3 separate regions of the Homo sapiens genome follow, and regions 2 and 3 are each linked to region 1. The links are contacts of gene promoters, found by promoter capture Hi-C in human tissues and cell types (Jung and others, 2019). All regions are on one chromosome and are shown on one strand. Each heading gives the region's core, a stretch centred on a gene start or on the middle of the fragment in contact. The rest is flanking DNA. Distances are from core to core; before and after follow the strand shown.

Region 1 (3,176 bases), core at 468-2,967:
TACGCTATTGGATATGCAGGTTTGGAGTTCAGGACAGAGGACTGGACTGGAGATATTCATTTGGGAGTTATCAGTGTGTGGGTAGTATTTAAAGCCATGGAACCACATGAGATCTCCAACGGAGTAAGTAGAGACAGAGATGAAAACAACAGCAACGACTGAGCCCCAGAGTAATTAGAAGTTAAAAGGGGCTAAGGACTGCAATGAATGTGCATGACAAGATCCATGTATTGCCATCAAAGTGAGTGACTGTTTCTAGGAGGGTAGAGGTCAAGATGCCTGAAGGAGGAGAGAAGTTTAATGACCTATGATGGTGGAGTTTTGGAAAGATTATTATCTATGCATTGAACATGCTCAGAAAAGAGAGGAGAAGTATTGGGGAGGATGCCAATGGGCTGAGAACTGATGTTGTTGAAAAAGGTGGTGAACAATGTTGGGCAGGGGTATTACAGGACCAACATGTTTGTATGCCTGTTGTGCAGAAACAGACCAATACACCAAGACAGCAGGCTTTGCAGCAGAGAGAGGGTTTGATGACAGCAGGGAGGCCGAGTGAGCAGATGGGAGAAGACCCTCAAATCCATCTCCCCGAAGAGTTCTAGGCTGAGGTTTTCAAGGGGATTATGGGGGGTGAGGGGCTGAAAAACTATAGTCATTGATTGGTTGGGGAAAGGGGGATGAAATCATCAGGATGTAGAAACTGCATTCTTCAGTGAGTCAGCTTCTCGTGGGGTCCTTCAGACCAGCTGGCGTCAGTAGTTTCATCAGTATGCATGACCTACAAGAATATCTCAAATGGAAAGCAACATTTCACAATGTTCAGTTGTTATCTGTGGAGCAGTGAAGGGGGACTCTAATCTTGTGACAGGGTCTGTGTGATTCTGGAGCAATAGGTAGCAAAACACTATGAGGAAGGATCAGAGAACAGCTGACCCCATGACTAACACTGAGTATGTGCAAGCTTGGCTTATTTTTGTTTCTCTCCCTCCCTTCTCTTCTGATTAATTGTATAAAGTTTCTAGGGACAGTTTCAGGGGTGATAGATGATGATGGTACGAGATTTGCAGTAGAAGGGAAGGAGAAGGTTCTGGAAGGGGAAAAGAGGACCAGCAGGGTCCCTCCATCACCTCCAGGTCTGCAGGAGGTGGCAGGAGGGCCTGGAATGAAAAACAGCCAGTGGCTGGGCGCAGTGGCTCACGCCTGTAATCCCAGCACTTTGGGGGGCTGAGACGGGCAGATCACGAGGTCAAGAGATTGAGACCATCCTGGTCAACATGGTGAAACCCCGTCTCCACTAAAAATACAAAAATTAGCTGGGTGTGGTGGTGTGTGCCTGTAATCCCAGCTACTTGGGAGGCTGAGGTAGGAGAACCACTTGAACCCGGGAGGTGGAGGTTGCAGTGAGCTGAGACCGCACCACTGCACTCCAGCCTGGCTACAGAGGGAGACTCCATCTCAAAAAAAGAAAAAGAAAAACAGCCAGCGCATGAGAGAAGATGTGAGCATCGTCCTCAGGGAAGAGTCAGTTTTTGTCAGAACAAGGAGGGACTATTTGGAAGTTAGTTTGGGATGTGAGGCGTTTTGCTATTAGTGGATCAGGCTGATGGCACCGTGGAGGGGTTTCAGGAGTCAAGAACAGGTGGGAGAAAGTTTCCCAGTGCAGGTTGTGCAAGCCTCCTGGCCCGGAGAGTGTGGGTGTGACGAGTGGCTTGAGAGACAGGGATGAAGAGCATGAATGCGAATGTACAGCACTGAGCTCGCGTCTGCCACATGGTAAGCTCTTAGAAGACCTCAGCTTCTTATTCATTTTGTCACAAATCGATTAATTACTGAGCTGAAGGACATATTAGAAAACGGTCAATAGCAATACTTCTAACTTCCAATCTGTACTTACGCTTGGCATTCAATCGATGTTATCAAAACCTGTGCCAGCTCCAAGGAAGAGAGAACACTGTTTTCTGATTTAGTTGCTTCCTGAAAGGAGCTGAGAGCTGTAAAACACAGGCAAGATTGGACTTTTCAATAATGCTTATATATTGACTTGCAGAAACAATATTAGAACTTTTTTAAAATGCACACATTATCTCCTTAGGGTAAGGGAAAAGGTTTTACCTTTTTATTTTTGCATCTCCCCTTTGAGTGAACATCATTCTTTTTTCTTTAACTCACAACTTTACAAGGTATTTGGAGAAATATAAGGGAGAGATAGTTTCTGTTTCTCACCTCTTTAAGCAATGTCCTCTTGTATACCAAATAATATCTTCCTGTGGTTAATGATATGAGAAACAGAATGCCTCTCCAGAAACCTTTTCACATCCCAGATTCAGAGTTCCTGAGGCCAGAATCTGATCTGACATATTTTACTACTTAGGTAAATCCTTAATCTCAAGAGTGATGAGAGTGAAGTCTTTTTATGTTTGTTTTTTAGAGATGGGCCTCTTTCTGTCGCCCAGGCTGGAGTGCAATGGTGTGATCATAGCTCACTGCAGCCTCAACCTCCTGAGCTCAAATAGTCCTCCTGCCTCAGCTTCCTGAGTTGCGACTACAGCCATGAACCACTGCATCCAGTTCAGGTTTTTTGTTTGTTTGTTGTTTTCCTTAAAAAACACTAGTGATTCTATTTTGATTCTGACAACTTTCATAAGGTCCAGGGACAAAATAAATGTGTTATCTCTTGGGAGGAGATGGATTTATAAGCCCATGGGCACCATTCAGAGGCCATATGCCCTGGAAGCACTGAGGAATGTGCTCAAAGCAAACCCTTGGGTCATCCTTGACTCTTCTTTTGCTCTCACATCCACATCCAATCTATGAGGAAATTAACTTAGCTCAGGTAGTTTAAAAATCCATCTGAATGTTGCGGCCAGGCATGGTGGCTCATGCCTGGAGTCCCAACTACTCAGGAGGTTGAGGCGGGAGGATTGCTTGAGCGCAGGAGCTCGAGGCTGCAGTGAGCTATGATCATGCCACTGCACTCCAGCCTGGGCAACAGAGCAAGGCTCAGGCTGGTCTTGAACTCCTGGCCTTTAGTGATCCTCTTGCCTTGTCCTCCCAAAGTGTTGGGATTACAGGCACGGGCCACTGAGCCCTGCCTAAAACGTTCAATGTCAGTGACTTGGAAGAATGTTCTGGTGGACGGGAAAGCCCCGGATGGAGAGAGGATTCAGGCATTTGAG
Region 2 (3,176 bases), core at 266-2,765, 54 kb before region 1:
AAGAGGAAGAGCTGTGGAGCCCTCAAGAGCCATGAAGGACCTGCTGCTCACCACGAAATGCCTCCTCAACTGCTGCTGGCCCACCTGTGGGCAGCAGTAAGTAGTGATGTACAGAATCCTGGGACCAGTGCCAGTGACCCTAGGGATACTATGGGTGAGCTGGGCGTGCACCGCTGTGATGGCCTCTCTGGTCAGGAGACGACACGCAGTGAGAAGGAGGGAAGGGCTGGCCCAAAGGGCTTCAGTCTAAGGTGAGGCCCACAGAAAGGCCTGCGCCAAGATGCAGCCAGCAGCCCACACCAGTGGTAGCTACCTGTTATCCATGCTGGGGCCAGTCCTTGATTGCTCCAAACACTCTGCTTGAAGGTTCTAATGGAAATGAGCAGGTCTTCCGATCAGGACCTAACCTAGGCGAGCTTCTGAAAAAAGCATGAAAAAGCAGCCTCCTGAACTTCCCCAAGTGACTGATGTGAAGCACATCCTGCACGCTTCACAGCATGGAGATCTTCCAGTGCACACCACGGACGATGTGAATGACAGCATGGACCATCAGCAACCCACAGAGCTGCCCGACCAAGAAGTTGTAAATCAGACGCCACACACACACAAAAAAGACAAGATGGCCTCAAGTCCCCAATATTCGAACTGGAGTAGGCGAGTGGCTTCCCTGGTGGCTCACGCTCTGCTGAGCACCCTTCATCTGCACCAGGAAAGACGACATGGAAAATGAGGACTTGGCAGTGGAGGGGAACAGGGAAGCAGAACAGGGTGGTCCCCCAGCATCGTGGCCGCAAGTCCCTCTGAAAGCATGGATGACAATGGTAATTTAGGTGCTTCCTTCGAATGTCCCGAGGGAAAGACTGGTAAAGCAGACATACGATTGTGAGAAGAAACCCAAAGGAGTACAGAACTCACAGCACAAGCCCAAGGTCTGCTCAGCGAGCAGGTCTCTCTGCAGGGTTCAAGGGCACAGCTGGAGAGGGACATCCCGAAGCTGCAGCCAGTGGTTTCCGATCTGCCTGAACTGCCCTGAAAACACATGAAGCAGCCTCAGGGGGAGTCCATGGAGAAGGATGTCTACTGCTTGCACCTCAGAGACTTCGTAAAGTGCAGGAAAATGGGAACTGCTCGTCATACCAGCAAGCTTTAAGAAAAGATGTGTCCCCAGACTTGGCCCAGGAATTGAAGGATGACACAGTTTTCAGAGGGAGATCCTCTTCTATGAGAAAACAGCCCAGGACGGCTGGATGACAGCCACGTCCACTGAGATAGCAAGACCTCTGGAAAGAAGATGACCATAATAGGCAGAAGCCAGCTGATTGCGAGGCCAAGTTCCACCCTTTCCTGAGCGGCCCTTTGGCTCCTGGGGATCCACCTGCAGCCCACAGGGGCCTGGAAGTGCCGGGGGACCATGGTCCTGAACACCCAGAGACTTGGCAGAACATCAGCTGATGCTGCTCCCTTTAAAACACTTTTGACTGCTCTCTGGTTTGGCTACTGTTCGTTAGTTGATGCTGAAACTGTTCTTACTGAAGTTTGATTGATAGCCTTAGACGGTAAGGTACAAATAAAGATGGTGTAATATAAAAAAAAATTTTTTTAAGTGAAAGGAACCTTGTGGTGCAGGAAACCTGAAAAACAAAACAAACAAAAAAACTGAATCTTTAGCGGGTTCACCAAGAAGTGAAAATCACATACAAACCTATCGCCCAGAGGCAACCATGATTGCCTTTTGTTTTTTACCAATTTAAAAATTTCTATTCTTATTAGATGTATACAGTTTTATATTGATGTGATTCTACCATATGGGTTGCTTAATAGCCTGCTTTTGGTCACTTTAATTAATGTTAATTTGTTATTATTAATGCTGTGAATATCTTTGCATTCAATGAGTATGTTATTTTCAGAGGCTGTACAGTATTCCATCTAGTTCAAAAAGTCCTATAATTTATTTAACCGATCCCCAATTTATGGACATTTGTTTCCAGTGAAATATAAACAACACTCCATTAAAAGTGTAGAGCACTTTTTAGTATATTCATTTGGTTATTTCTGTAGAATTTATTCCTAGAAGTGAAATTGCTGAATTACAGAGCATACATATCTAAATACGTATATATGTTTTATATCGATTACAAATATATGTATTACTATTTTAATGTAAATGATTTTATATGTATTTAAAATGCCAATGTGAATGTATTACTATTTTAATGCAAATGATTTTATATGTATTTAAAATGCCAATGTGATTGTTAGTTTTATGGGTCAACTTAACTGGGTTAAAGGATACCCAGACAGCTGGTAAAAGATTATTTCTGGGTGTGTCCGCAGGGCGTTTCAGGAAGAGATTAGCATTTGAATCAGGAGACTGAGTGAGGAAGATTTGCCTTCCCCAGTGTAGATGGCCATCATCCAACCACTTTAGGGCCCTGATACAACAAAAAGGCCGAGGAAGGGCAAATTTGCTCTCTCTTCTGCAGCTGGAACATCCATCTTTTTCCCCCATCTTCAGACATCAGAACTCTAGATTTTCTGGCCTTCAGACTCCAGACTTGCTCCAGCACCCTCTGAGCCCCATTCTCCTCTCATTCCCAGGCCTTCTGCTTCAAATTGAGGCTGACAACATTGACTCTCCTGGTTCTCAGACCTCTGGATATGAGACCTCTGGCGCAACTCACCCCTGGCTTGCACCAAACATTCTTAAAATGTTTATTGGGGTCAGGTGCAATGGCTCGCACCTGCAATCCCAGCGCTTTGGGAGGCCAAGGCAGGAGGACTGCTTGAGGCCAGGAGTTCAAGACCAGCCTGTACAACAAGGTGAGACCCCATCTCTACAAAAAAAAAAATATGTATATATATATTCAATATATATATTCATTTATTTTTGAAACAGAGTCTTGCTCTGTCACCCAGGCTGGAGTGCAATGGCACGATCTTGGCTCACTGCAACCTCCACCTCCCGGGTTGAAACAATTCTCCTGCCTCGGCCTCCCAAGCAGATGGATTACAGGTGCCCACCACTATGCCCGGTTAATTTTTGTATTTTTAGTAGAGACAGGGTTTCACCATGTTGGCCAGGCTGGTCTCGAACTCCTGACCTCAGGTGATCTGCTCGCTTCAGCCTCCCAGAGTGCTGGGATTACAGATGTGAGCCATCATGCCCGGCCTGCAAA
Region 3 (3,176 bases), core at 281-2,780, 49 kb after region 1:
TATATATATTTTATATATATATATATATATATACACACACACACACACACACACACATTTCTTCATTTGTACTAGCTACATTTCAGGTGCTTATTAGCTACATGTGGATAGTGGCTACCATATAGGTCAGCACAGATACAGAACATACCCACCATTACAGAAAGTTCACTTTAAACCTACATATGAATGAAAATCTAATGTATTAATCAGTAACACATTAATCTTGTGTATAAATCTACTCACAACCCAAACATATCATGTTCTTTGATCTCCATCACTTTTTAAAATCAAAGGTAAAAATCACTTCAGGGAATGAGTTAAACTCATTGCCTGCTTCTGAGCAGTAGGGTAACACCTCACTCTGAATAATCCTCCATACAGAATTCTCTCTGGAAAAATGATTATTTCCTTCTCATATGTGAGTCTTAAAAGACGCAGGCATTCGGGCTATTTCCACATATTTCACTTGACTCCTGCATTCACAATTCCTTGCTGGCCTCTGGGTAGGAAAGAGATTCTGTGAACTATGGACTGGGTTGCCCCTGCTCAGAAGGAAAGTCACCCAGCCCTCGCGAGCCTGAGAACCTTTGGCTGCCTGCTGCCTTAAGATGACAGCAACAAACTCTTCCAAAGGGAGAGCTGAAGATCATCACTGCTGCTCGAGTGAGCTGCTTGCCTGAGGAAAGAGTTGAGGGGCTGGGGGAATCATTGGCCCTCGTCTTGGCCAAGGTTTGGCTTTCCGCACAGTGATGTGTGACTTTTTTTTTTTTTTTTTTTTTTTTTTTTTTGAGACAGGGTCTCATTCTGTTGCCCAGGCTGGAGTGCAGCCCACCTCAGCCTCCTGAGTAGCTGGGACTACAGGTGCACCTCCTCATACCTGGCTAATTTTTTTTTATTTTTTGTAGAGACAGGGCTTCGCCACGTTGCCCAGGCTGGTCTCAACCTCCTGAACTCAAGTGATCCTCTCATACCTGCCTCCCAAAGTGTTGCGATATAGATGTGAGCCACCCTGCCCAGCCAACATGTGACATATGGAGAGCTGGTAAAGGAAAGATGGGACCTGGAGAATCTCTTTCTGATCTGATTTGAGAATCATTTTTATATTAGGTAGGGTAAAAGGCTGAGCTGCCATAACACAGTCTCAACAGTATAGAAGTTTAAAAGATGAAGAAGTTTCTTTTGTATAACCATCCAAAATAAATGTTCCAGGTGCAGCCTGTTCTGTTCCACCACTATTTAAGGACACAGGTTTCTTTTGAGTCGTTGCTCTGTCCTCCCCTGCCCCGTTCTCTGGGAGAATTGTCTTCTGCATGGCTGAAGCTGATTATAGAGGCATGTCTGAGTTTCCATTGTGAGAAGGGGAAAGAGCATGGACGAGACATGCCCACTCCCTGAAGGCCTGGGTTCCTCATTGCTTGCTCATGATCCACTGGACTGGACGCCATACCTAATTGCAAAAGTCGCTGGAAAATGTAGTCTAGACTGTGCTCAGGAAGAAATGGAAAATGAATTTCAGTGAACTAACGGCACTCTCCACTATACCTTCCTTTCCTTTTCTAGTTTTTTTTTTTTTGGGGGGGGCGGGGGGATTTCTCTCTTGTTGCAGGGCAATGGCATGCCTTGTTGCCAGGCTGCAGAGCAATGGCATGGTCTCGGCTCACTGCAACCTCTGCCTCCTGGGTTTCAGCCATCCTCCTGTCTCAGCCTCCCAAGTAGCTGGGATTACAGTCACCTGCCACCACGCCCATCTAATTTTTGTATTTTTAATAGAGACGGGGTTTTACCGTGTTGTCCAGGCTGGTCTTGAACTCCTGACCTCAGGTGATCTGCCCACCTCGACCTCCCAAAGTGCCTTTTCTCAGTTCTCAATATTTTTTTTCTTTTCAAACGCTATGACTCCATATCCATCAAGATAGTGTGTCCGGAATTGGTGGGTTCTTGGTCTCACTGACTTCAAGAATGAAGCCGCGGACCCTCAAGATGAGTGTTACAGTTCTTAAAGGCGGCGTGTCCGGAGTTTGTTCCTTCTGGTGTTTGGACGTGTTCAGAGTTTCTTCCTTCTGAGGGGGTTCGTGGTATCTCTGGCTCAGGAGTGAAGCTGCGGACCTTCGCGGTGAGTGTTACAGCTCTTAAGGTGGCGTGTCTGGAGTTGTTCATTCCTCCCCGTGGGTTTGTGGTCTCGTTGGCTTCAGGAGTGAAGCTGCAGACCTTCCCAGTGAGTGTCACAGCTCATAAAGGCAGTGTGGACCCAAAGAGTGAGCAGCTGCAAGATTTATTGCAAACAGCGAAAGAACAAAGCTTCCACGGTGTGGAAGGGGACCCGAGCGAGTTGCCAGTGCCGGCTCAGGCAGCCTGCTTTTATTCTCTTATCTGGCCCCACCCACATCCTGCTGATTGGTAGAGCTGAGTGGTCTGTTTTGACAGGGCGCTGACTGGTGCGTTTACAATCCCTGAGGAAGACACAAAGGTTCTCCACCTCCCCACCAGATTAGCTAGACACAGAGTGTCCACATAAAGGTTCTCCACCTCCCCACCAGATTAGCTAGACACAGAGTGTCCACACAAAGGTTCTCCAAGGCCCCACCATAGTAGCTAGAGTGTCCATTGGTGCATTCACAAACCCTGAGCTAGACACAGGGTGCTGATTGGTGTGTTTACAAACCTTGAGCTAGATACAGAGTGCCCATTGGTGTAATTACAATCCCTGAGCTAGACACAAGGGTTCTCCAAGGCCCCACCAGAGTAGCTAGATACGGAGTGTGGATTGGTGCATTCACAAACCCTGAGCTAGACACAGGGTGCTGATTGGTGTGTTTACAAACCTTGAGCTAGATACAGAGTGCCGATTGGTGTATTTACAATCCCTGAGCTAGACACAAAGGTTCTCCACGTCCCCACCAGACTCAGGAGCCCAGCTGGCTTCACCCAGTGGATCCCGCACCGGAGCTGCAGATGGGGCTGCCTGCCAGTCCCGCGCCATCCACCCGCACTCCTCAGCCCTTGGGTGGTCGATGGGACTGGGCGCTGTGGAGCAGGGGGCGGCGCTCGTCGCGGAGGCTCGGGCTGCACAGGAGCCCACGGAGGGGCGGGGAGGCTCAGGCATGGCAGGCTGCAGGTCCCGAGCCCTGCCCCACGGGAAGGCAGCTAAGGCCCAGCAAGAAATTGAGCACAGCAGC

Evidence for each region. The method cuts DNA at HindIII sites, captures the fragments that hold promoters and counts their contacts. A contact is called where the count stands out against the background at its distance.
Region 2: a contact is called between a fragment that was not itself captured here and the fragment with the promoter of C10orf126 in region 1, in 1 of the 25 tissues and cell types used here (bladder).
Region 3: a fragment that was not itself captured here is called in contact with the fragment with the promoter of C10orf126 in region 1 in 2 of the 25 tissues and cell types used here (IMR-90 fibroblasts and fat).

What each region holds. Positions count from the first base shown.
Region 1 is chr10:28,844,691-28,847,866 of GRCh38, forward strand. C10orf126 (chromosome 10 open reading frame 126) reads left to right here and starts at 1,718. Exons shown (of 5, transcript NR_164114.1): 1 at 1,718-1,773; 2 at 2,429-2,573. The HindIII fragment of the contact is 9,674 bases long and covers 1-3,176 here.
Region 2 is chr10:28,791,314-28,794,489 of GRCh38, forward strand. The region is part of intron 2 of LINC01517 (long intergenic non-protein coding RNA 1517); the gene reads left to right. It overlaps LINC00837 (long intergenic non-protein coding RNA 837), which reads right to left. Exons shown (of 2, transcript NR_038376.1): 2 at 1-1,631. Among named protein-coding and RNA genes, the nearest start is that of LINC00837, 3.1 kb to the right of the region's middle. The HindIII fragment of the contact is 7,810 bases long and covers 1-3,176 here.
Region 3 is chr10:28,893,834-28,897,009 of GRCh38, forward strand. No RefSeq gene overlaps it. Among named protein-coding and RNA genes, the nearest start is that of C10orf126, 49 kb to the left of the region's middle. The HindIII fragment of the contact is 3,266 bases long and covers 1-3,163 here.